Linked DNA regions of Homo sapiens: regions 1, 2 and 4 are each linked to region 3. The links are contacts of gene promoters, found by promoter capture Hi-C in blood cells and fetal thymus (Javierre and others, 2016). All regions are on one chromosome and are shown on one strand. Each heading gives the region's core, a stretch centred on a gene start or on the middle of the fragment in contact. The rest is flanking DNA. Distances are from core to core; before and after follow the strand shown. Region 1 overlaps KSR1 (kinase suppressor of ras 1). Region 2 overlaps KSR1 (kinase suppressor of ras 1). Region 3 holds the start of WSB1 (WD repeat and SOCS box containing 1). Region 4 overlaps KSR1 (kinase suppressor of ras 1).

Evidence for each region. The method cuts DNA at HindIII sites, captures the fragments that hold promoters and counts their contacts. A CHiCAGO score of 5 or more calls a contact.
Region 1: a fragment that was not itself captured here is called in contact with the fragment with the promoter of WSB1 in region 3 in 1 of 17 cell types (monocytes); the score reaches 6.7 in monocytes.
Region 2: a fragment that was not itself captured here is called in contact with the fragment with the promoter of WSB1 in region 3 in 1 of 17 cell types (activated CD4 T cells); the score reaches 5.4 in activated CD4 T cells.
Region 4: a contact is called between a fragment that was not itself captured here and the fragment with the promoter of WSB1 in region 3, in 2 of 17 cell types (activated CD4 T cells and naive CD8 T cells). The highest score is 6.0, in activated CD4 T cells.

What each region holds. Positions count from the first base shown.
Region 1 is chr17:27,523,654-27,529,839 of GRCh38, reverse strand. All of the region lies in intron 1 of KSR1 (kinase suppressor of ras 1), which reads right to left. It also overlaps the pseudogene MSANTD3P1. Among named protein-coding and RNA genes, the nearest start is that of KSR1, 70 kb to the right of the region's middle. The HindIII fragment of the contact is 4,109 bases long and covers 29-4,137 here.
Region 2 is chr17:27,540,349-27,546,537 of GRCh38, reverse strand. The region is part of intron 1 of KSR1 (kinase suppressor of ras 1); the gene reads right to left. It overlaps LOC124903960 (a long non-coding RNA gene), which reads left to right. Exons shown (of 2, transcript XR_007065680.1): 2 at 2,565-6,189. Among named protein-coding and RNA genes, the nearest start is that of KSR1, 87 kb to the right of the region's middle. RefSeq lists a silencer at 1,998-2,057 and enhancers at 2,731-3,231, 3,232-3,732, 5,542-6,189. The HindIII fragment of the contact is 4,629 bases long and covers 1-3,582 here.
Region 3 is chr17:27,292,727-27,299,030 of GRCh38, reverse strand. WSB1 (WD repeat and SOCS box containing 1) reads right to left here and starts at 4,917. Exons shown (of 9, transcript NM_015626.10): 1 at 4,596-4,917. The coding sequence starts at 4,635. MIR4522 (microRNA 4522) reads left to right here and starts at 5,035; the gene lies at 5,035-5,121. RefSeq lists enhancers at 4,639-4,698, 4,709-4,768, 5,139-5,188 and a silencer at 4,889-5,098. The HindIII fragment of the contact is 5,795 bases long and covers 4,001-6,304 here.
Region 4 is chr17:27,467,880-27,474,565 of GRCh38, reverse strand. The region is part of intron 1 of KSR1 (kinase suppressor of ras 1); the gene reads right to left. Among named protein-coding and RNA genes, the nearest start is that of KSR1, 15 kb to the right of the region's middle. RefSeq lists enhancers at 579-908, 929-978, 1,200-1,964, 1,965-2,729. The HindIII fragment of the contact is 3,461 bases long and covers 2,070-5,530 here.

The DNA.
Region 1 (6,186 bases), core at 834-3,333, 230 kb before region 3:
TGAGAATTCAGATATGAAAATTAAAGCTTCCAGCTTCAGAGAAAAGACGGGTGTCGGGAAAGAGTTCATGGAAAAGATGAGCTTTGAATTGGGTCTTGAAGAATGACTGGGGTTGCACAAACAAGTCAGTTAAACAGGCCAAGGAAATATACATGTTTATCTCAAAGGAAAGTTACCTCTGCCGGCAACCATAACAAACCTCCCACCTTAATAATAAGCAAGGAAATACAAAATGGAAACATATGGGCAGATGTTTGGCAACATTGGCAGAGGGACTCCCCAGTGTGGCTGTGGCAGGAGCATGGCAGGAGCGTGGAGCGGCATCGCCCCCCTGGAGGGCAGCAGAGAAACAGGATGATGCAACAGAAGCCTCACCAGGTGGCCCTCACCCCTTGAGCCAGACTCCACTTCTAGGAATTTATCCTAAAGAAACAATTAAGTGTAAGCATAAGCCTATTCACGGAAGTGTAACTTAAAATAGCCAAACATGGGGAAGTAGGTAACTACATTCTGGTGTGTCAATCACAGAACACTATGAGGCAACTTTTTTTTTTTAAGTCCCTTTTAACAGTGTACTTAATCATATGAGGCAATGCCCATAATCTTCTAGAAAGTTAACAACTCAAGGTAAGAAAACTACATTTGCAGTATGATCTTCACATATCTTTTTTATTTTAATTTAAGGCATTAATTTTCTTTTTTCAACTTTGAGGTCAATTTCTATTTTTATAGCAAAATTAACATCTCAAAATGTAAACACTGGAAAGTTTTATTATTTACTTTTTTGTATTTTTAAAGAACGGGTGTCATTTTTATAATCATAAAATGTTATCCAAACTGAAAGAATAATAAATGGAGTTTTTTTATCCAATAGGTTTTTGGGGAACAGGTGGTGTAAGTTTTGTTTTGGGATTTTTGTGGTTTTTTTTTCCAGTAGAGACAGGGTCTCTCTTGTCACCCAGGGTGAAGTGCAGTGGCATGACCGTAGCTCACTGCAACCTCACACTCCCAGGCTCAAGCAATCCTCCCACCTCAGCCTCCTGAGTAGCTGGGGTTACAGGTGAACACCACTATACCCAGCTAACTTTTTTTATTTTAATTTTTGTAGAGGCAGAGTCTCACCATCTTGCCCAGGCTGGTCTCAAGCTCCTGGGCTCAAGAGATCCTCCTTTCTCAGCCTCCCAAAGCACTGGGATTACAGACGTGAGCCACTATGCCTGGCCCAGAAATGGAGTTTCAATAGGAAGAGAAGAGGACATCCTCAGCTTAAAAAAACAGCAGGAGCCAGAAGTGAAGAAGTACAGGTCTCTCCTGGGAAGGAGAAAGAACTGAACATCATGATTAGACAGAGCTGGGCTCACATACTGGATCCACTCTTTTCTAGCGGTGTGACCTTTAACAAATTACTGATCCATTCCTGAGCTTCAGTTTCTTCCAAAGACCAAATGTGTTAAAGACTAAACGTGTTAACTTGGCCAGGCACAGTGGTTCACACCCGTAATCCCAGCACTTTGGGAGGTTGAGGTGGGCAGATCACCTGAGGTCAGGAGTTTGAGACCAGCCTGGCCAACATGGTGACACCCTCTCTCTACTAAAAATACAAAAATTAGCCAGGCATGGTGGCACGCACCTGTAATCCCAGCTACTCAGGAGGCTAAGGAACAAGAATTGCTTGAACCCCAGTAGGCAGAGGTCGCAGTGAGCCGTGATGGCACCACTGCACTCCAGCCTCGGCAACAGAGTGAGACTTCATCTCAAAAATAATAAAAAACAAAATAAATGCATTAACTTACACAGAATACCTACTCGATACACTAATTAGGTCATAGCCTTTTCTACTGACCAATAAAACAAATTCCATCCTGGATGACCCACAAGAGGTAGGGATGTTCATTTATGAGACACATAATCAATGTAATAACAGCATTTGGGGAGAGCAAAGAATTACTACATTAAAGACATCGTACAAAGCCTCCCAATTTCAGAAATATTAAACTATGAAATATATCCTAAAATCAAGAAACTATGAAAATTTGTGTCTTCTAAAGATACTGCTGACCAGGATAAAACATTTGGTGAAAGCCCAAGATATTATTGTTTTTCTCATGATTCTTATACAGTCTGATTTGTGCCCCAAACAAGAAGTCAGGCCGGGCATGGCTCACGCCTGTAATCCCAGCACTTTGCGAGGCCAAGGTGGGTGGATCACTTGAGGTCAGGAGTTCAAGGCCAGCCTGGCCAACATGGTAAAACCCCATCTCTACTAAAATACAAAAATTAGCCAGGCTTGGTGGCTGGTGCCTGTAGTCCCAGCTACTCGGGAGGCTGAGGCAGGAGAATCGCCAGGAGGCGGAGGTTGCAGTGAGCCAAGATCACGCCATTGCACTCTAGCCTAGGTGACAGAGCAAGACTTTGTCTCAAAAAAGAAAAAAAAGGGGGGGGGGGGGGCGGGTGTGCCACTGCAGTGTCTCCTTTTGTTATCCAGGCTGGAGTGCAGTGGTGCAAACATGGCTCACTGTAGCCTTGACCTCTTGGGCTTAAGCAGTCCTCCTACCTCAACTTCCCAAGTAGCTGGGATTACAGGATAGCTGGCGGCCAGGGGAAATATAGTGGAAAATGCAAAACAATGAAATTATAAAACCTGCCAAATACTTCTCAGAACTAGAAAAGAGTACCCTGCTGATTTTAGTAGAAAAGTACAAATATGTGCTGGAATGTAAGAAAAGTGATGTGTGAACTATTGCCCTTAAGCAATCAATGTACCTGCAGGCGCTGACCCACGAATGCAACTCTCAGCCGAGCTGTCCCTGCCGGATTTCAAACAGCTGAAGAAGGGCTGGGAGAACATCAAGGCTTGGACTAAAACAATTATGGCCCATGAAAGGAGAGAGAAGGTGAAAGGGAGCGTCAGCCCCCTCCTGAGTAACCAAGTCCTAGGGAAGGAGATCACCAGCATGCTGCTGGAGCAGCTCTACTTCCTGCAGAGCACTCCTTCCACCCCTCCCCCCGGAGGAGGAGCCCAAATACCACGCCACGGCCCAAGAATCATTTGCTGTTTCAAATAGAGAACTGTGCGATGATGAGAAAGAGTTCATACGTTTTCCAACACGTGAGAGGACCTCTCAACCTGAACCCTCGTGTTCAGCTGTCAGAATAACAGCCAATAAAAACTACATGAGCAAAATCTCTCAGGAAGGTGCTTTAAAAAAGATGCACGAGGACTGAACATGATCAACAAATGTCCATCTTACAATTGCAACTGATACAAATGAATGAGGTGCATTGTGGCCAAAATCCAGCAGACAGAGCGAGAGTGTGAGATGGCAGAGGAGGAACACAGGATAAAAATGAAGTTCTCAATAAAGAGAAGATGTATTGGGAAAAAAAACTACAAACTTTTACCAAGGAATGGCCTGCTTCCTCATTTAACCGGCCCTTTCCCAATTCACCCTAAGACTTTGGGGGTGGCTCTCTTGTAATTAATTGTGTTGGCAAAGAATGTCTGGAACATGGACTTGCGGTCAGTAACCTGTAACAGAGCGACAACTAGGAAAATTTGAGTGGTAGTAGTCACTAACTTAAGAATTCCTTCAGGGAAACAGCTGCACCCTTTGTACCCCTTAAGTGGCAAAGAAGCTGTTACAGTCTTCTGAAAATTATCACCATGAGTGCTATAATTCTGAATGTAATGTCTCTTAATTAGAATTCATACAAGAACCATGAGAGAGAGAGAGAGAGAGAGAGAAAGAAAGAAAGAAAGAAAGAAAGAGAAAGAAAGAGAGAGAGAGAGAGAGAAAGAAAAGAAAAGAAAAGAAAAGAAAAGAAAAGAAAAGAAAAGAAAAGAAAAGTTAGTTGCAGTTACCGAACAGATCTGGATGCCATAGGGGCAAGGCCCCACCTTCCACGCAAACTGTTCCAAATTGGAAAGGGCTCTTTTCATTCTCCCTATAGCACACCTGTATTTCTCCAGTTTGATGTTTAGGGAGAAGATTTACACAAATGTCTGAAGGGCAAATCTTGCTAGACTACCCGGGGTGTCCTTGGCCCCAACTACCTCATCCTCTTTCAGATGAAGAAGGCACCAGGAACACCAAGGTCAGCTGCCTGAAGATTAAGCAGCTGCAACCTGGAAAAGCTTAAGGTTTAGAGAGAACCTCTGGAAACCTTTGGAACCTTTGGGAAAAAATGCAAACTCAGTGACCAAACTGTAAGGGGTGGAGAGCTGTATCCTCTCCTAAATGCCAGGCTTTGGGAAACTCAAGATAAGCCTTCAGAGGAGACCCAGAAGGCTCAGCTCATTCCAGTACTACATATAATCAGCATTTAATCCTTACCATGGTTCTTAGCCATGTGTCAGGCCCTGTTCCAAGCACATTACATGCGGTAACTCATTTATTCTCTCCAACGAAACTGATGCACAGAGGCAACTTGCCCAAAGCCAGAGCCAGAACCAACCCATGCAGTGCCTTTGTGCAAGGTGAAAGAGTGCATCCCATCCTCTGCACAGACACAGCACAGACCCACAAAAGGCATATTCCTGGCAATAGGGGCAGTCTGGATTTAAGGAACCCTTCACCCCCTTGTGCAGTGCACAACCTGCTTGACTGTACACAGCCCTGTCCAAGTTCACACAGTAAGTAAGAGGCGGAGCTGGAATCTGAACCCAGGCCACCTGGCTCCCAGGTCTGCTACCAAGTAACAAGCAGGCACAGTTTCATATTAAATAAGTGGCCTGCAAATTAATGCAACTCAAAATATACAGAAGGACTGATGCGGGTGACTGAGAGCACAATTCTGTGTGTCTAGAATGATCACATTTTCAGTAATGATGAGACAATGCTCTGACATTTACAACTTCATGGGCATAAGATTTTTTCTTTCTTACCATTTCTAATGGGAATATTTCTAAAATGTGCCCCACCGTTTTCCACCTTACAGCATAATGTAATATAACCCTGCTTGAACTCCACACCACCACTGCCACTCCAGGAACCCAGAGCCCCCTCCCTGCCTTTTCCTGCCGCTCTGCCTGCAGCCTTCTAATCCTGGGTAATCTCTTTTTCTCTGCTCCTATAATTGCTACTGGAGAAAACTCAATGTGCAGGTGGGTTGGGGACATCCAAAGTTTTAGGTTTTGACCTACTTCCTCTGGCTTAGCAGCTCTTTGATTTGATTCTATCTAATTCCTTGCTCTTCCCCAATTCCTGGGGCAGCATCTTACCAGTTTCATGCTCTACAAGCCCCTTTGCAGAGATACTGGAGGCCACCGGCCTGTACTTGCTGGATTTGCCTATCCTCACCTCCCATCAATACCTCCCTCCTTGGGAAGGGGATGGGGAGGGGAGATCTAGCTGTCCTTCAGCCTCCAAACCTGCATTCAAATCTTTCTGGCCTTAATAAATACTTTCTCTTCAGCTCCCCCTTCTCTCTCTCATTCCCTTCAAGTTCAAAGATCTTGACACATTTCCTCAGCTGTTCAATATTACTCCTCCATTGATCTTAGTCTCTCTACTCCACCAAAACTGCTCTTGCAGAAGCCCCCAGAGTCCATGTTCTCACTCCCACCCTCATCCTGCTTGACCTCACTGGGGCATCTGGCCAAGTGGTCTCTCCTCCCAGACATGCCCACCCCTAGCTTCCCAGTTCTCCTACCTTTCTGACAACTCAGCAGCCTCCTTCCCAGGACTCCCACAATCACCTACACGCTTATGCCTCCCAATTTAGAAAACTCTGAACCCCACTCCACTCATAAGCTCCAGCCCCAATCTAACCCCCAAATGGATGGCCAGCCTGCATGGGCCAGAGGTACCCAAACTCACTATCTCATCTTTCATCATCTAGTGGTGGCCTCCCACTTTCCACTCTCCTTTCTTCCTAACAGAATGCTGAGGTTTTAGCTGGCCCGTTTCCATCCTTCCTTGCAGGCAGGTGTAGCTGTGTGACTAATACCTGGCCAATGACACATAAATGGAAGTGCCACATGGTAATTTCAAAAGGAATATATACATGACACATCCTTCTCCAGTTCATTCATCCTGCTCCCTGGAAAGCTGATGTGAAAGCTGGACCTCCAGCAGCCATCTAGGAACATAAGGATAAGGAATGGCAGAAGGGTGAGCTGGAAGGTTCCTGAGTTCCTAATGACTTTGTGGACCCACCACACCGACATTGGGTTACCTACATCCA
Region 2 (6,189 bases), core at 19-2,518, 250 kb before region 3:
GAGCCCTGATCATGGAGTTACTATCATACTACAGTTAACAGCTTCTGCCTCAGTCTCCCCCAATAGACACGAGCTCCCAGGCTTCTGAGTTGAACACATCTGGGTTCAAATCCACCATATACTAGGCTGCACTGCCCCAAGGAAGATAATTAATTTTTCTGAGTCTCAGTTCACCCACCTGTAAACAGGAACGATGACACCTAGCTCATATTCAACTACAGCATGGAGACCTCCAAAAGACTAGGTTAGATCTCCCTATAATTACACATCAGTGCAGGGACCGTATTTCCCTCATATCCCCAGTTCCTACTACAGCACCTGGCATAAAACATATGCTCAGGAGTGCCAGAGGAAGAAAATGTGTGGTTCTTATCCCCATGTTTCTCACAGCCAGCCCTTCCCTCCATTCCACGCGGCTCTGAAACCACCACTTCAAAGGGCTGACCAGAGACAGGACTATAAATCAAACAGCTGTGCAAACTCAAAACCACTCTTTTCCACATTAACTGGAGAGGTCAGGCTGCTGGCACTAAAAGCAGCAGCACTAGAGCCCTTCTGTCACTGGCACATGGCCTTCAAGGGTCCTGCCTCTGGGAGTGATTCCTAACATATGCCATTTGCACAAGACTTTCGCCACCACAGGCCAACATTGAGATTAGCCCACCTGGCCTTAGCCTGAGCCAGCGTTTGGGCCTTCCCCAGTCCAGCCTCCCCACAACCTGCCTGCCCTTTTCAGCTTTGAGGCACTCGGTCCCCTGCTAAGCAAGCTCTTCCCAGTGACTCTCCGCCTACAAGGATCAGCTCAGACACCACTTCCTCCAGGAAGCCTTCCTCAAGCCCTCCAGCCCCCTGCCCAGATCACATATCGCAGTTCTGATTTTTCACGCTTGTCTGCTTCCCTCTTCAGGCTGGAAACTCTGGGAGGTGGGGGTCCAGCTGGTGTTCTTGGTCACCAGCAGACCTCAGGAGCCAGCACAGCACCCAGCACATGGGCTGCTTTTTCTCTTTTTTCATAATAGAGATGGGGTCTTGCCATGCTGCCCAGGCTGGTCTCTAACTCCTAGGCTCAAGTGATCCTCTTGTGTTAGCTTCCCAAAGTGCTGGGATTAAAGGCATGAGCCACCACACCTGGCCTGGTTTGCTATTTTAAAACCTTTGTTGAAAGGATGAACACACAAACACAATACATTGTGCCAGACAGGCACACAAAGTTTATCAAATGGCAGCGAAAAACAAACACCAACTGGGCAAGTGATGAGACAGGGGTCTGAACATCTCAAAAGCCAGGACAGCTTCCCTAGAAGAGGAGCAAGCGGTTTCTTTTTTTAAAGGCCGGTAGAGATCCCCGCTAGACAGCCCAAAGCAGGCCCATGGGTAGAACTGTGCAGAACTTGAAGTGATTCTTCTTTGCACCCAGATAACCCATAAACCTGGCTAGCTGTGCCTGAGACAAGGAAAAGGGAAGACATGCAGTGCAGCACGACCCAGCTACTGGCAGGTCTGGTGTCCTGGCAGCTGCTATCTCCCAGAACTTGTTAAGAAACAACCTCTACAGATTTGGGTTCTGCTGATGGAGCAAAACTTCTCTGGTTGACAAAGGATGGAGGTGGCCTACAGGCAGCCACTCCCGTCAGAGTGAAATGAAGCTGCTCTCACTTCTTGGAAAGTTGGTTGCAGTCACAGAAGCGCCAAGGGGCTACTTTCCCAGACAAACCACAGTGGGGCCTGCTAGCCCAGCCCTGGGGGCCTAAAAGGGGACCTTTCATTGGTAGCGTCATTTTCTCTTAACCACAAAACCGCAAGATATAAATTTTCCGGAATAGACAAGCACCTGGGGTTTCAGGGATGGGACCAGCAGCAAGAAGGAAAGAGTCATTACGTCTCTGGCCACAGGGGAGGCCCTGGGCTGGAACCAACATCTCTCACACCCCAATATTCTTTTGCTTCAAGAATGTACTGTGGGCCCACCCCAGCCCTGACCAGAGTCTGACTTACAGAAAGAGAATAGTATCAGGTCAGCCACAAACAGTTGGTGGGTGCTACCGATACTACAGCAGGCGCTCACTAAGTATCTGGGGCCGAAGGAGCTCAGCTCTAGTCCCAGCTCTAACATCTAAAATCAAAGATCTTGGGGAAATCCCCCTTGGCTCAGCTTCAGTCTTACCACCTATAAAAAGAGTATCATTTTATGGAGGTTGAGGCCAAGTGAGTTGCCGTATACAAAGTGCTTGGAACAAGCAAAAAACAAACCACGGGTCCTATCCAGCCATACCTAGGAGTCAGTGTGGCTCCATGAAGGACATCTCTAGCCCTAAAGTCCCTTGACACCACTCCCTTGGGTGAACATAGCCATGGGATCTAACCAGTGAGCCTCACTTTTCCTACCTGTAAAATGGGGTTGATCTACCTCAAAAGGCTGTTGTGAAGGCTTACATGAGAAAAATATGAATGCAAAGTGCTCAGCAAAACGTGTGGAACACAGAAAACACTCTTGCGGCGGCAGCGGACGTGGGTGGTGTTCTTCTCAGGCGAAGCCGACAGGTTCTCTCTTATTACCTCCCTAGGCAATACAGAAGATATGGGTGGGAATCTGCCCGTGTCAGAGATGGGACTAAGGAAGACCCTGAAATCTGGTCTTGACTTCAGGACAATGCTGGAGGAACCCACGCATCAGATATATTTCTTCTAAAGGCGAGACGGCCAAGACCTGTACCCACCCAGCTGACTCCAGGGAACCCAATCCTATCCTCCTTTGAGTGCTCACCTCCAACCTCAGCACCAGAGGATGTGACGGGAATGAAATGACATCGGCTCCACTTGCCCAAAGGAACATCTGCACCCGTAACCTGGCATCCTGATCAGCCTCAGTGTCATCTGCCACCCCAGCTGCTCGGGTATGACTCTGGCACAGGCCTCCCAAATGGAGGCTCCACGAGTATCACTTGGATGGTGGTGAGGCTTGTCAGACATCCCTGGAGAGCACGGGCCTGGTTGAGCAGATACTGTGCCAAGGAGAAGCACGTGCCACTGAGGAAAGAGACTTCTTCAGGTAAAGGACACAGCCCCCAGAACTGCAGGGATCCCCAGGAACATGGAGGCCTCACACCCCTACCCTGCAGGTCCCTTCCTTGTCATCCTTCCTTTACACTGCGCCCCAACCTGCCTCTCCATAGCTGGTGCCCCATAGCATGGGTCCTGGGCCCATCCTCCATGGTGTGTCATGGCTGTCCCAGGCAACCTACCCATGGGCCAGTCTGATTTGGGAGGCTGGGTTCCTCTGTGGCCACAGAACCAACCATCCCTTGGAGGCTGCCACAGTGGAGCTGGAGCAATAGCTGCCTTGCCTCTAAAAGCAAGACCATTTAGCACCAGCTAAAATGGCAGTCTAGACAGAGAGCTCCCACGGGCGGCTTCCACAGGGTGTGTGGACAGGGACAGGCCAGCCATTGTGCTGGACTGGCTGGAAGTGCAGCAGTGACAGGCAGATGAGCCACGCCTCCTGTTTACCACCAGCACCTGTTCTGACTGGTCAGAGGTCATGCCTACCATTAGTTAGTGGTCCCATCTCCTCTGCGAGAAGCTTGGGTTTGGCAGCCAGGAGGCTCTACCCCTCGCACCATCACACATCAGCTGTGTGGCAGGATCTAGATCATATCATCTTAGTCTCCTTCTCTGTAAAGCAGAGAAAATATAATACATGCCCCATAGCACTGCTGAGAATTTGCTGCAGACTCATGTATGCAAAGTGTTTAGTCCAATGTCCAGAACATATAAAGTGCTCACTAAATAGAACTCTGTTAGTGTTACTCCTGCTCAGCCTGCAGAATGACCTCGAAAAGGAGGAGCATGAAGACTTTTGGCAGGTGCCGTTTGGATTATACCCCACCCAGGCTTTTTTGCACCTTTGCAAAAAACACCTCTTTCCAGACGACTGACTTTGCAAACAAAGTCAGCTCCACCCTAAAATTGCAGGGCCTGAGATGGGGAGATCTCTTCTGTGGGCAACTCTCAAACCCATGATCTTGGCTATGTTAGCAGCCAGATGCCAAGGCCTATTATAGGTTGTCACCCTAACCCTGACTTTGGTCGTTGGCTGCCACAGGACCCTCTCAGTGGCCCAGATCTTCATGTCTCAGAAGCAGGGCAGGGGGTTAAATCTGTTGTGACAGATGTCACAGATGTTAACATATAAATGAGTAAATGAATCCAAGGCACAGGCTAACATGGACACCAGTTTCCCATGTATAGTAGCAGGCTCCCTCAGTTACAGAATCATGTCAATACTCATTTGTCAACCTAGTAGTGTTAACAATCTTTTCCTTATGTATGGTACCATATCACTTCCTCTACCTGGATTGTCAGTGAAAATTTCAGAGGCTAGGAATTAGAGTAGATCCCTGATAGCACAAGGGTGACTGATGTCCCAATCTTCACACACAAACCCAAAGCTGGCAATGTCCCTAAAGCACATCATTCCCTCCACAAAATACAATCATGTGTAACTGAAAATACTACAGACCCTTCCAGACTTCTGATGGGATGTACTGTGTATTCAACATTGAGTAAAGAAAAACAAAGCTACATCGGGATGTGGGTGCTGGACAGCACACTGGGCTCACTCACTGGCTCAGGGATGCTCACCTGCATGCCTGCCATCGAGTCCAGCCTCAGCCAAATGACAAGTCACTGCTCATCCTTTGCCGTCACTCACAAATCATGAAACCTCTCATGTGAAACCCACAAGACTTAAAGGTGTACTTCATCATTCCCATCTTACAATGAAGAAACCAAGGCACCAGCCTTTGTAACTTTCTTGAATCCTGTGGTTAAAGAAGGGATTCCAACCTCAATCTAATGCTCTCTATGCACCTCTCAAAATAATGACTCCTGCAACCCACACCCTAAGCTGTCTTGACTGGTACAAGCAGGATGGCAGTGGGCAGGGTCTACCTCTTTTGCGATCCAAAGCCCAAAATCCAGCCACGCCTAGACTGTTCCAGGCAGTGAATCCTGTGAATAAGAGCCACAGGCTTGCCCACACCCTCTAAATGTATCCAGCCACCCAACTGGGCCACCACCTCTGGTCCTGACTTGCAATAACCTACCCTCTGGGCTGTACCCCACCCCTGGCTCTAAGCCAGCATTAAATTCATTAAAACTAGCCATCATGCTGCCTATAACCTGAGGCCATCCCTTTTAAGAAGATCCTAGTATGCTTTACAGAGTGACACGAAGTAACTGGACAGCCACTCCATTCGTCCATCACTTGCCTCTTGTTTTATTTAGTCCTCCTGTGGCAGGTGCAGTTGTGGACCAGCTTCCAGCTCACCAGCACCCACAAGACCCTGACTCCTTTCTCCTCAGTAGGCAGCACCAGACTCTTACGTGGTGCCCACAGCAGTCTTTGCTCCTGCCAAGTCCCTGACTATACCATCCCGAACTTCAGGATGCCACCAAAGCCCTGGCAACTTACTCCAGCCTTCATTCCAGTGGTCCCTGAAGCTGCTGCTCCTCCTCCACTATTGACCCATTCTGTCCATGCCTCGGGGAAGCTCCCCTTACATCTTCCACTTCCTTCCCAAAGCTGGAGTGCATTTCTGGGGACTTCCCACCAACCCAGCCAGCTAAGCAGTCTAGCCTGGCTGCCATGGCCAACTTGTTGCAAAATGATTTCTGAGAATGTAAGGAGGCCTCTGGAGGTTGTGATGCAGCTGACAGTTCCACGCACAGGCACGCAGCGACCATAGCACCCAGCTCCGAGGGGACCAGAGGCAGCCCCTTGGCTCCCAGCACTGCCCAGCCCTCAAGGGCGCCCACGGGGGCTGACATTCATGGGCATGGGACAGAGCAGGAGAGGCACACAGGGAAAGTGGGGCAAGGAGAGGAGAAAGTACAAGTGACCTCAATCCTTGAGCTGGGCATTTCGCAACAGCCAGCCCTCTCCCGGCCCGGCCCATACCCGCACTCTCCTGGGGAAGCTGCCAGGCTTTTACATTTGTGTAGAGACAACCTCCCCGCCAAGCCTCCCACTAGCAATCCTGCCTTGACGTCAAACTCAGAGTCGGGGAACTTCAAACACAAACAAACAAGTCTAACCCAGACCACAAGTGGAGATATTCCCAAGGAGGCCAGGGGTGAGAACGGCCACAGCTGGGAGCTCAGGGCCTCCTACCCTTCCCTATGCTCCAC
Region 3 (6,304 bases), core at 3,668-6,167:
GGGTCTTGCTCTGTTGCCAAGGCTGGAGTGCAGAGGCAAACTCGTAGGCTTAAATGATCCTCCTGCCTCAACCTCCTGAGTAGCTGTAGCAGGGACTACGGGCACATGCCCCCACACTTGGCTAACTGAAAAAAACAAAAACAAAAAACAAACTTTTTTTTTTCCTTTTAAGACAGTCTTGCTCTGTCGCCCAGGCTGGAGTGCAGTGGCTTGATCTTGGCTCACTGTAACCTCCGCCTCCTGGGTTCAAGCAATTCTCCTGCCTCAGCCTCCCGAGTAGCTGGGATTACAGGCGTGCACCACCATGCCTGGCTAATTATTATTATTATTTTTTGTATTTTTAGTAGAGACGGGGTTTCACCATGTTGGCCAGGCTGGTCTCGAACTACTGACCTTGTGACCCGCCCGCCTCGGCCTCCCAAAGTGCTCAGATTAGAGGTGTGAGCCACCGCACCCGGCAAAAAAACAATTTTTTATAGACAGGGTCTTGCTATGTTACCCAGGCTGGTCTCCAGCTCCTGGCCTCAAACGATCCTCCCACCTTGGTTTCCCAAAGCGGTGAGATTAAGGCATGACCCACTGCATCAGGCACACTTTTTTTTTAACTTGGATTCCTGTTTAACCACATCTATCTTTGAAAACATTTTTAAAGCATTTTAAAAACATTTTACAAGCATTTTTAGGAGGAAAAAAATGCTAAGTTCACAAATAAGGGAAGCAAGTTTTAAAATTCAACTTAAAAGTCTCTATGGAGAATATTTATGTAACTTGTATACGAGGAACAGCCCTTGCATTCAATTTCAAGAACATCTAGTAAATGAGACTAAAATTAAGCTCTCCCTTAGCAAGCATAAGCAAGACTTAAATTTTTCATACGTGACTTTTTTTTTTTTTTTTTTTTTTTCTGAGACGGAGGCTTGCTCTGTTGCCCAGGCTGGAGTGCAGTGGCATGATCTCCGCTCACTACAACCTCTGCCTCCCGGGTTCAAGCAATTCTCCCTGCCTCAGCCTCCCGAGTAGCTTAGATTACAGGTATGCACCATCATGATGCCCACCACCACGCCCAGCTAACTTTTGTATATTTTAGCAGAGACGGAGTTTCACCATGTTGGCCAGGCTGGTCTTGAACTCCTGACCTCAGGTGATCTGCCCACCTCGGCCTCCCAAAGTGCTGGGATTACACGCATGAGCCACCGTGCCCAGCCTAGACTGTATTTTAAGGTTACTCTATATTTTTCTTCTACCTTGACCACAATCATGGAACTCCTTGTGTATAGTGGTAATAGGACAGGCACACTGGTAATCCCAACACTTTGGTAGGCCAAGGTGGATGGATCACTTGAGCCCATGAGTTTGAGACCAGCCTGGGATAGATAGGGGACCTCATCTCTACAAAAAATTTAAAAAATTAGCGAGTGTGGTGGCATGCACCTGTAGTACCAGGCTGAGGTGGGAGAATTGCTTGAGCCCAGGAGGCAGAGGTTGCAGAAAGCCAAGATTTCACAACCGCACTCCAGCTTGGGTGATAGAGCAAGACTCTGTCTAAAAAAAAAAAAAGAGTAGGCCGGGGGCAGTGGCTCACGCCTGTAATCCCAGCACTTTGGGAGGCCGAGGAGGGTGAATCACCTGAGGTCAGGAGTTCCAGACCAGCTTGGCTAACATGGTGAAACCCCCCATCTGTACTAAAAATACAAAAAATCAGCCAGGTGTGGTGGCACGAACCTGTAATCCCAGCTACTCGGGAGGGTGAGGCAGGAGAACTGCTTGATCCCGAGAGGTGGAGGTTGCAGTAAGCTGAGACTGCGCTACTGCACTCCAGCCTGGACGACGGAGCGAGACTCAGTCTCAAAGGAACAAAAAAAAAAGTAAAAGAGCGGTAACAATTACTAAAAAATTGGTTCAAATAGATAGCAAAGACAATGAAATAATAACATATTTATAACATAATTCTCAAATATATACAAACTCAAGAAATAGAGCCATTATAAAACCTACCAAATAAATGCATTAATCTGTTAAAATTTACTAATAATTGCCTTGTGTTTCTTTGCTGGATAACAGGTATATCAAATTGCCTTTGGCACTTTAATAAAATGATTTAAGTGCTCAGATTAAATACTGGTACAATTTTATAAACCTAGCACAAAGTTTGTAATAAAGTGCTTTGAAAAAAAATTTTTAAGTTAAACCTTTATTACATTATCTGTAACTGTTTAATGTTAGCAACAGAAATGTATGATTTAATGACCTTATTAAGGGAAAGGCTGCCATGGGAAATCAGCCGTAAGATACAACACTACATTATTAATATCTGTAAAACAGTAACATACCATCTGAGTCACTGCTGAACCAAGCAAACCAGATTTAGCTCCTTCTTTACATTCCTCCCCAAAATTTCATAACCAGAAAGGGATGATCTGTGGCAGTGCCTTGTGAAAAAGGGCAGTAGCTCAAGGCAGTAGTATCACAGAATTATTTAATCATTCATGGAAATCTTGCCTCTACTCTCCGTATGTCCTTGAGAAACTAAACTTGGCTTGGCTTTTAATTAACACCCAAGAAAAGAAAAAAAGTAAATCCTTATTCATAGATTTAAAAAGCTACGCAGAGAAATGTTCAACCTTGTATCCAAATGATAATTCAAAAAAAGAAACAAAGAAAAAAACTGGGGTTAAAAAAAGCTCAGAAAAAGCAAAAGTTCTTCTAGATATCTGGCACTTAGCTAGTAAGTTTTTATAACGTATCCAGGAAATAACACTGAGACCTAAATATGAAAAAAAAAAAGAAAGAAAAGAAAAGAGAAATCAGGGGGCTAGTGGGGGAACACTTAGTGGATGGTTCTACTTTATGTAGGTATGCTATCCATCTCTATCCATCTCTTAGAAAACAAAACCGGAAATCTGGGCGGGGTGGCTCACGCCCGTAATCCTAGCACTTTGGGAGGCAGAGGTGGGCGATCACCTGAGGTCGGGAGTTCGAGACCAGCCTGACCAACATGGAGAAACCCCATCTCTACTAAAAACACAAAAATTAGCCGGGCGTGTGCATGCCTGTAATCCCACCTACTCAGGAGGCTGAGGGAGGAGAATCGCTTGAAACCGGGAGCCGGAGGTTGCAGTGAGCCGAGATCGTGCCATTGCACTCCAGCCTGGGCAACAAGAGCAAAAACTCCATCTCAAAAAAAAAAAAGAGAGAGAGAAAACAGGACCGCAAAGTTTTCAAAATGGTTTATCAGGATGAAGTAAAATACAGATTTAAAAAAAAGGCAGATCACTCGTCTATAACATTATGGTGTACTAAAGTAAAAGAAAAACCCACTGGACTGATAAGAACTTTTGAGTTCTTTGTCCCACTTCGCGACATACTTTCTAGTCTTAAAATACAGTTAAAATAATAACTGGACACAAATTCTGTGTTCTTTGCATCTTTTTTTTTCTTTTTTCTGTGTGAACTCTGCTACAATTTTTTCCCTTTTTTTTCTGTGTTTGTATCTTTAAAAATGGTTATTAAAACCAGGGTTAAAGTCCCTTCCTAATCAATCATCCCTAAGACAACAAAAGTCCAGAATTCTAAAACAGCTGTTTCTAGATATAAAAATTCACCCACATACAAAATAGTGCGCGTTTTGGCTACTTCAGCCTCTTCCCTTCTCTAGAAATAACTCCTCCTTGTACTTAGTAAAGGCACACATTCACTTCAAGAGTAGGAAAATGTAAATGCTCTCTGCTCAGCGGCCGCAGCTAATTATTACTTCACACAGTAAGATCAGTGTTTGCTAAGTGTTATCAGCCAATGTACAGCACCCCCCAACACCGTCAAACGTTGTTCCAGTTATTTTACTTTAAAAGAGGATTTAAATAATGCGACGTGCTTTCCACTGAGCCACTAAGTAGGTGTGGACGCACAACCTTCAACACTAATTGCCCTTTACTAAGCCGACCAGGGCTAGACACTAAGCCAGAAAAGCCTTTTCCAGAGTTTCCTCTTCCGCACAAAAGCTTTCCTTCTGTCACTCCACCCAACCACCCAGCTCCTCCCTTAAGTGTTTGAAAGATAATTCTAAAAGTCTCCTCCCCCGAACCGCTGCGTTTCTTAAGGCCACACCATTTTAAAAATACTGTATTGCTTTTGCCAGGCTGTTGGGACCTCTTCCATCTCATTTCTATCTAAGAGTGGTTGGTACACACGAGGACCCCCTCCTTTCATTACCGCTTACAACCCACAAGTTTACTTTTCCCCATTGTAAACCTAAAGTCCCTGAGTGGCCCTTCCCTGTCCACTCGACAGTCATGCCCTGAGCCAAGAACTCCCAGGACAAGAGCCCTGCGCGGACCTCCGACGAAGAAACCGGGGTCCTTGCCCGCCCCAGCCACACAGCAACCGCGAGGGAGCACAGTAGGTGCTGCATCCACGTCGGTGCCGTTTACCCCTCAGCCAACTCCCACCGAGGCGGCTTCCTCCTCCTCGCTAGTGGGCTGGCCCTGGCGCACTGGAGCTCTTCCCTCAGACTTGGAGTCGCTTCCTCCCAAACCTCCTCCGGGGAGTCCCTGCCTCTCCTCGGCCCTCATGCGCCCACCCACGGTCCCAATCCTCACCGATCTCTTTCTCGTTGACCCTCGGGGGAAAGCTGGCCATCTATGGGGCACCGTCTGATTCCGGGAATACGATGCGGACCCAACAACAGAGAAGAGAGTGGCGACCGCTGAGGGGCGTGACGCCAAGTTGGTCCCTCCCGGGCCCAGGGACAGAGGAGACGGGCGGGGGCGGCCGCTGCGGCTTCTGCTAACTGCCTCGGGAAAGCTCCCGAAGGCCTCAGACCAAAGTACGGAGTCAACCACAGACAATAGACCCTGTACCCAGCCTCGCGCCTGCGGAGGAAGACAGTTCCCCTAAAGCGCCGACTGCAAACGAGACACTGGAGTCAAAATGGCGGGCGGCGCCGGAGATATCTGGGCGGCAGGGGCGCGGCCACGTGACGTCACAGCCCGAGGCCCCCGCCTCCCGACGCACGGGACGTGATCTCCCCGGCCCGGCGCGGGCGTTGCCTGGGGGCCTCGCAGGGGGAGATCCAGCCCAGGCTGGTTCCGCTGACTCTGCCTGTAGGCCGGTGGCGTCTTCTGGGCCTGGATGGTCTAATATGGAGTTTATAAGCTGAAGTGGCTTTGAAAAGGGCAAGCAGAGAATTGTATTATTATTAGCCTCCTAGCTTAAAGATTGCATGGAACTTAAACTGGCTGAACCAAAAGAACAAAAAGACATTTCAGGTTTTCACTCAATTTGGCCAACTCCCCAGCCCACAAGTAATAGGGAACTGAAGGATGCACTGATGAAAAAGACAGGATGAAAATTAACATCGTTGTGCACCACCTGTCCAGCTGCGATTGTTCAGACCTGAGCCAGCAGGTTTTAGGAAGGGCCGAGGGGAACGAGAAGGAGACTCGGGCGTGATCGCGCCGCACCGCGCCGCGGGGCCTCTCTGGACTGCCTTTGTCCTGGCCAAGATGGATCCCACTGTCCTGGCCAAGATGGATCCCACTGTGTCAGCTCAGAATTGGCCCTTCCTCCACCTTACCTGAAGGCCTCTGGGAGGCACCTAGTTGTCCACACATCAGACTGATAAATGTGTCAGTATCTGCTAGATGCCAGCTTGGTTCCCGGTCACAGATGACGTATTTGCATTTTAATGGCTTCTCGTGTGGACCCTAAACATTGCAAAGGCCTGGGGCGTATAAGACTGGGAATTCAAATATGTGGCAGATATTCATGGGACAGAGTAGAGTGTTGCATAGCCGCTTTTTTTTTTTTTTTTTTTTTTTTTTTTGAGACGGAGTCTCGCTTCTCCCAGGCTGGGGTGCAATGGCGTGATCTTGGCTCACTGCAACCTCCGTTTCCCGGGTTCAGGCAATTCTCCTGCCTCAGCCTCCCCAGTAGCTGGGATTTGTACAGGCATGTGACACCAAGCCCGGGTAATTTTTGTATTTTTAGTACAGAGGGCGTTTCACCCTGTTGGCCAGGCTAGTCTCGAACTCCTGGCCTCGAGTGATCCGCCCGCCTCAGCCTCCCAAAGTGCTGGGATTACAACGTGAGCCACCACGCCCGGCTGCATAGCCGCTTTTAAGAGATCTCAAATGATAACACTGTAGGGCATGTTTACTTCATCTTTTCTTTGCATGAGTGTATTAATTCTTCAAATAGCGAAATGTTTAATAAAACATCGCCCCTCCTTTTTTTTTTTTTTGGTTATTTATTTATTTTTTTTTTTGAGACGGAGTCTTGCTCTGTCTCCCAGAGCAGAGTGCAGTGG
Region 4 (6,686 bases), core at 2,551-5,050, 180 kb before region 3:
ATTATAATCCCCATTTCACAGATGAGGAAACTATTGCTCAGAAAGGGTAAGCAACTTGCCCAAAGACACACAGCTAGCCAGAAAGGCAGTGCAGCCTGAATCCAGGCTGTCAACCACCAGAACCTGTGCTCTTACACAGCATGAGGTGCTGCTCATCCTCCCATCCTTACATCCAAAGATAGAAGCCACCCATGGTCCAGCAGAGCTTTATAGTAAGAACAGCAGGTCTGACTTTTGGAACATAAGCATTGCCTGGCTTGCAGCCACAGGGTGACAGGGGCCTGTTTGCTATAACAAGTAGCACTACGGCTTTGACAAGCTGGGTGCTAAGATAACAAATCCTGCCAGACCAGGAAACTGCTTAAACCAAACAGGGCCAGAGAGGAAGTTTGGCCTAAGCTGTTAGATGCTTGAGACAAGGTCTGGTCATTTGAGGCCGCCTAAGTCTTCTTCTAAGAATAGTCAAAAGCCCCCTCTGGTTTAGGGGTCTAGGAGGGAGGGATGCAAGTGAAGGAGTTTCCTCTAGACACATGGCCGATCGCAGCCCACATGGCTGGCTGTACACAGGTATTGTGAGTAAACGAGGTCTTTGGCTTTTGGTTTCTCTTTTTCTTTTTTTAACTACTTCCTAAAACTCTCAAAATTGTCAAAGATGCAGCTGGAAGAGTGGCCTGGGGTTTTGTCTCAAATGTTCACCTCTCCTCATAAGCCACCAGGCCAACCACACAAAAAAAGCTTCCTGTCCCCTAAAAAGACAAGTTTCCATTCGTTGATGGATTCTTCCTTGTTCTGTTCTGTCCCCTGTGCCACGGTGAGTCATGGCCACCACAGGGACTCTCCCCAGGGACTCGTCACCTTCTTTCTCCTAAAATGTACCACCAGTATTTAAAATACCGCTGTGCCTATCACCATCACACCCAAGCACTACCTGCTATGTTGCCTTTGTAGCTAGAACCCTTCCAAGCAGAGGCAAAATTATTTGAGGTGATCAGATAAAGTCCTCTGCCTGCCTGCTGCCCAAACCCCAGCCCTACAGGCTGCTCCTCACAAGGATGCCCCTCTCCCACCTTCCTGCTCAGCCAGAAGCCCCCACCTCTTGCTTTGCAGCCTCCTTTCTGCGAATGGCCACCTGTTAATCCAGATCCCCACGCTCTGTTACTTCATCCTGTCTCCAACTGTGAGGGACTCCCATTCCAATGATGCGAAAAACGAGACTGCCAAATCCATTTCCACCCAGCATTACTTCTTCTAAAATGCTAAGCATCACCAAAGCCTTGTATTATCTCTTTCTGCCCTGAACAAGACCCAAGATCAAGCAAATTTCTAAAGAGGGCAATGAAATGAACACAAATGGAAATTCAGACAATTCAGCTCCACCAGTTACTGTGTGACTTTGGGCCTTATTTCATCACCTACATGGGCTCATAAAGTTATCATTACTGAGAAATTAACTGAGAGAACTGCTGTCAGAATCTTGCTGCCTTAAACCTGGGTACTAGCTGGGCATGGTGGCATACACCTGTGGTCCCAGCTATCTGGGAGGCTGAAGGTGAGCCAGAGAGGTAGACAGAGGCTGCAGTGAGCCATGATGGTGCCATGGAACTCCAGCCTAGGAAACACTGCGAGACCCTGTCTCAAAAAACCTGGGCAGGTCCACTTCACATTAGCCATAACTGTGGGAGGAAGGGATAGGGCCCTGAGTTATTACTGATACATTCCCAGGATTCTGGCCTTCCATTCCATTTTTTTTTTATTTTCATTTTGAGATGGAGTCTCGCTCTGTTGCCTAGGCTAGAGTGCAGTGACATGATCTCAGCTCACTGCAACCTCCGTCTCCCAGGTTCAAGCAATTCTCCTGCCTCAGCCTCCTGAGTAGCTGGGATTACAGGCACCCACCGCCATGCCCGGCTAATTTTTGTACTTTTAGTAGAGACGGGGTTTGACCATGTTGGCCAGGCTGGTCACCTGACCTCAGGTAATCGGCCCACCTCGGCCTCCCAAAGTGCTGGGATTACAGGCATGAGCCACGGGGCCCAGCCCACTTCCCATTTATTTAATAGCAACAAGCTTACATGCAAGGAACCCAAGGTGCTGGTTAACCCTGGTCAAAGGAGGCCCCTAATTCAATGACATCAGAGCCCCCCGGGGCTTATGAGTCATTCAGCCTCCTCCAAACGAAATGGTGCCAACATCTTCCACCAGGCTATTTCCAGGCACTCTCATGAGGTCCACACCTCGCTATGTGAGTACACTCTAGACTCCCAGAAGCATCTGCTCAATCTCATAACCCCTTCTTTGCCCCATCCTACGGGAAGAAACCCATGAGGAGCACAATGTCCCCAAATCTACATTCCCAACCAGAGCCACAAATCAGAGTCCGCAGTCAGGGGAGAAAGGGTCAGGGCAGGCAGCTCAGTAAGAAGGGGGTTTCCCATGGCTGTCTCTTGGTCTTGTTTCCCATAACTGGGAGCCTAGACACTCATACCTAGTATCAGCAGCCCCACATCTGAGCTGGCAACCTCAAGTCTGAGGACCCCTTCCCTGGCAGGGGTCCAGGTGCCCCCAAGCAGGCCGGGACTGCCAGGCTTTACATCAGAGAACTGAGTTTCAGTTACCACGGTGAAGGCTGACAGCACAGAGCACAGTTCCGTGCAAATCAAGACACATTTCCCAAGTCCCTACACACCTCAGTACAGAGATGAGTCAGCTGCGCGGCCTGATGAGCCTTCATTCACACCTCACCAGCACCTTCTATGAGTTTACTCATCCACAAACTCCCCCACTAAGCTGGCTTTCTGGAGCACAATACATCTCTCATTCACTCTTATATTCCAGAACAGTGCCTGGCACGAAACCCGGCCAGGAGGGCGGAGGGGGAAGTAGGAGGACACCTGTTTGCTGAGTTGGTGCATTAATTCTCTCCTGCGGCCCAGCACTGAAAAAACAGCCCCATGCCCCTGCTTACCTCCTTGACCCCAAGGCCAACCATCCTCCCCTGACACTGTGTTCCAGGCACACCAGCCTCCTCCTGGCCCTTGACCACACCAAGCTCGATTCTGCCTCAGGGCTCTTGCACAAGCCAGTCCCTCTGCCGGGAACACTCCTCCAGGCTACAGTGGCCTTCTCATCTTTCAAGACTCAGCTCAAAAGTCACCCTCTCTGGGAAGGCCTTTCCCGATCACCCCATCTAAAGAAGTCACCTCTTCCATACCCCCACCTCTCTCTAACCCACTTCCAGTTTTCTTCTGAGAGCACGTCTGTCTGTTTGGCATGTGTATTATCTTTCTCTTTCCACTGAAGGAAGCCCTCTATTTTCTTCCTTGCTCCTTCCTCAGTGCCTAAAACAGTGCCTAAAACAAACCTGATATTGAGCAGATGCTCAATAAATCGTCACTGGAGTGGGCCCGGCACGGTGGCTCACGCCTTTACAGCACTTTGGGAGGCCAAGGTAGGGAGATCACTTGAGGCCAGGAGTTTGAGACCAGCCTGGCCAACATGGCAAAACCTGTCTTTACTAAAAGTACAATAATTAGCTGGGTGTAGTGTGCGTGCCTGTGCTCCCAGCTACTCAGGAGGCTGAGGCACAAGAATCGCTTGAACCCGGGAGGCAGAGGTTGCAGTGACCCAAGATTGTGCCACTGCACTCCAGCCTGGGGGACAGGGTGAGTCTCTGTCTGAAATTTAAAAAAAAAAAAGTCACTGAATGAATGCACAGAAGAGAGAAATAGCAAATTCAAGATAAGGAATATCTAACAAGGTCAAAAAATGGGGAGAATAAAGGAGAGAAGAAGAAAGGTACAAAGGTCAGAAAGAATTGTAAAAAATATGAGATACTTACCCAGGAGTACAATTTTTAAAACAGCTATCATTCAACAGGAGTTAAATGGAGGGGCTAGGTGTGGTGGCTCACGCCTGTACTCCCAGTACTTTGGGAGGCTGTGGTGGGCAGATCACCTGAGGTCAGGAATTTGAGATCAGCCTGGCCAATATGGTGAAACCCTGTCTCTACTAAAAATACAAAACTTAGGCCTGGCGCAGTGGCTCACACCTGTAATCCCAGCACTTTGGGAGGCCGAGGTGGGTGGATCACGAGGTCAGGGGTTTGAGATCAGCCTGACCAACATGGTGAAACCCTGTCTCTACTAAAAATATAAAAATTAGCTGGGCGTGGTGGCGGGCACGTGTAATCCCAGCTACTCAGGAGGCTGAGGCAGGAGAATTGCTTGAACCCGGGAAGCAGAGGTTGCAGTGAGCCGAGATCGCACCACTGCACTCCAGCCTGGGCCACAGAGCGAGAGTCTGTCTCAAAAAAAAAAAAAAAAAAACACAAACAAAAACAAAACTTAGCTGGGCATGGTGGTGTGCACCTGTAATCCCAGCTACTCAGGAGGGTGAGACAGAAGGATCACTTGAATCTGGAAGGTGCAGGCTGCAGTGAACTGAGATCACACCACTGCACTCTAGTCTGGGCAACAGAGCGATACTCCGCCTCAAAAAAAAAAAAATGGGAGAACAGTTTGGCAAGTCTTAACACACACACACACACACACACACACACACACACACACACACTCCATCTCCATGCTCTTTGATCCAGTAATTCCATTCCTGGGAATTATCCCAAGAAAACAAATTCAGAATAGGAACAAAAATAAAGCGCCTATATAAAGACGATTCCATTCACATTGTTTATAATTGCAGAAATCTAGAAACTACTGAAATGTCCAATAACACGGAAAATGCTTTGCCAAATTACAGCAGATCCACTAGACACACTCTCATGTGGCAACTAAAATGACCAAAAGGAAGATAATAGGGAAACATGGAAAAGTGTTTTGGAGTAATGCTACGTGAAAGGCGGGGGACAGTGGGGGAAACACTGAACTCCTTCTAAGTACCAGGCACTGTCCAGCACTCCTTCTGTATCTTGGTTCTCAAAAGAATCCAAAATTAACCTACTCTTATCCCCTTTTAACTAACAAGAAAACTGAGGTCCAGAGAGCTAAAGAACTTGCCCAAGGTCACAGAGCTGGCAAGGAATGGAGTCAGAATACGAATATGTCATCCTCACCCCAGAGTCCCCGCACATCCTGGCGCCCTCAATGCACGCCTCAATGTCCTACCAAGTGCTTGAGGGGCTCTTTCCCATAGTGACATCACGATTGTGTTGTGGAGGCCAAACTCAGAGACTGAAACAGCCAGCAAAAAGTGACTCGGCACCTGAGAAATGCTTGCAAGAGAATACAGCAAAAGCCAAAATAAAGCACAAACAACCAAAAGAAAACTACCTGTTGGGATCAAAAGACCACGGAGAAAAGAAATGAGAAAGTGGTCAACAAAGCTAGGCTTCAGGAAGGACTGTGCAGAGCCTCGAGAGAAGAGCCGGGAAGGGCAAGGAAGACTTTTACAGGTGCTGGATCCGGGTTCCAGGCTGGAACCGCAGAAATGAGGGTTTGCCCGGGGCTCCCAGAGAATAGCACCTTCCTGTACTCAGCAGCTCTTCTCTCCAGGGCCCACACACAGTGAAGCTTAATCAATGTTAGCTGAAATACACTTATCTCATAATGGGAACAAGCAACAAGGAAAAGGAAGGGAAGAGACACTAGAGGCATGGGCAAGAATGGACTGGAAATCAGGATGTGCACAGTGGGATTCCGCTGGGTCTGGGGGCCCTGCTTCGTTAAAAACTCTCATCTCAGTCTCTGGCAGGACTGCTGTGGGACAGGGAAAGCACCCAGCCGTCTGAGAACAGGTTTCAGGTGCGGCGGGGGACTCAGGTTAGATAGTGAGATGGACACTCTGCAATGTACCTGCTGCCAGAAGCCAGAGCAAGCTTAGGAGAAAATAATCAAAACTGCCTTTTCATAGGAAAACACAGAGATTCCTCCCAGCCTGCTGAGATAGGTACAGCTCAGCCTGGAAGCGGATGGCTGGAGAAGACCGCCCTGGGTCACTCTGCTTCCTAGAGACGAACTGCCCAGGGCCACCATCGCCAAAACAGAGCATAAATACCCTAGATCACTCAAGATTGGCCACAGGCCAGGCACGGTGGCTCACGCCTGTAATCCCAGCACTTTGGGAGGCCAAAGTGGGTAAATTGCTTGAGCTCACAAGCTGGCCTGGCCAACATGGTGAAACCCTGTCTCTACTAAAAATAAGAAAATTAGCCAGGCATGGTGGTGTGTGCCTGTAATCCCAGCTACTTGGGAGGCAGAGGCAGGAGAATTGTTTGAGCCCGGGAGGCAGAGGTTGCAGTGAGCTGAGATCTCATCACTGCACTCCAGCCTGGGCAACACAGCCAGGCTCCATCTCAGAAAAAAAAAAAAATAATTGGCCACAGCTGGTTATTGCTGAAGCTGGGTAATCACTACACAGAGGTGGTCACAACATTCTCTCTACTTTTGTACAAGTTTAAACCTTTCCATGATAAAGTTAAAAAAAAAAAATATGGCCGGGCGCAGTGGCTCACGCCTGTAATCCCAGCACTTTGGGAGGCCGAGGCGGGCGGATCACGAGGTCAGGAGATCGAGACCATCCTGGCTAACACGGTGAAACCCCGTCTCTACTAAAAATACGAAAACGAAAAATTAGCCGGGCATAATGGCAGGCACCTGTAGTCCCAGCTACTCGGGAGGCTGTGGCAGGAGAATGGAATGGAACCCAGGAGGCAGAGCTTGCAGTGAGCC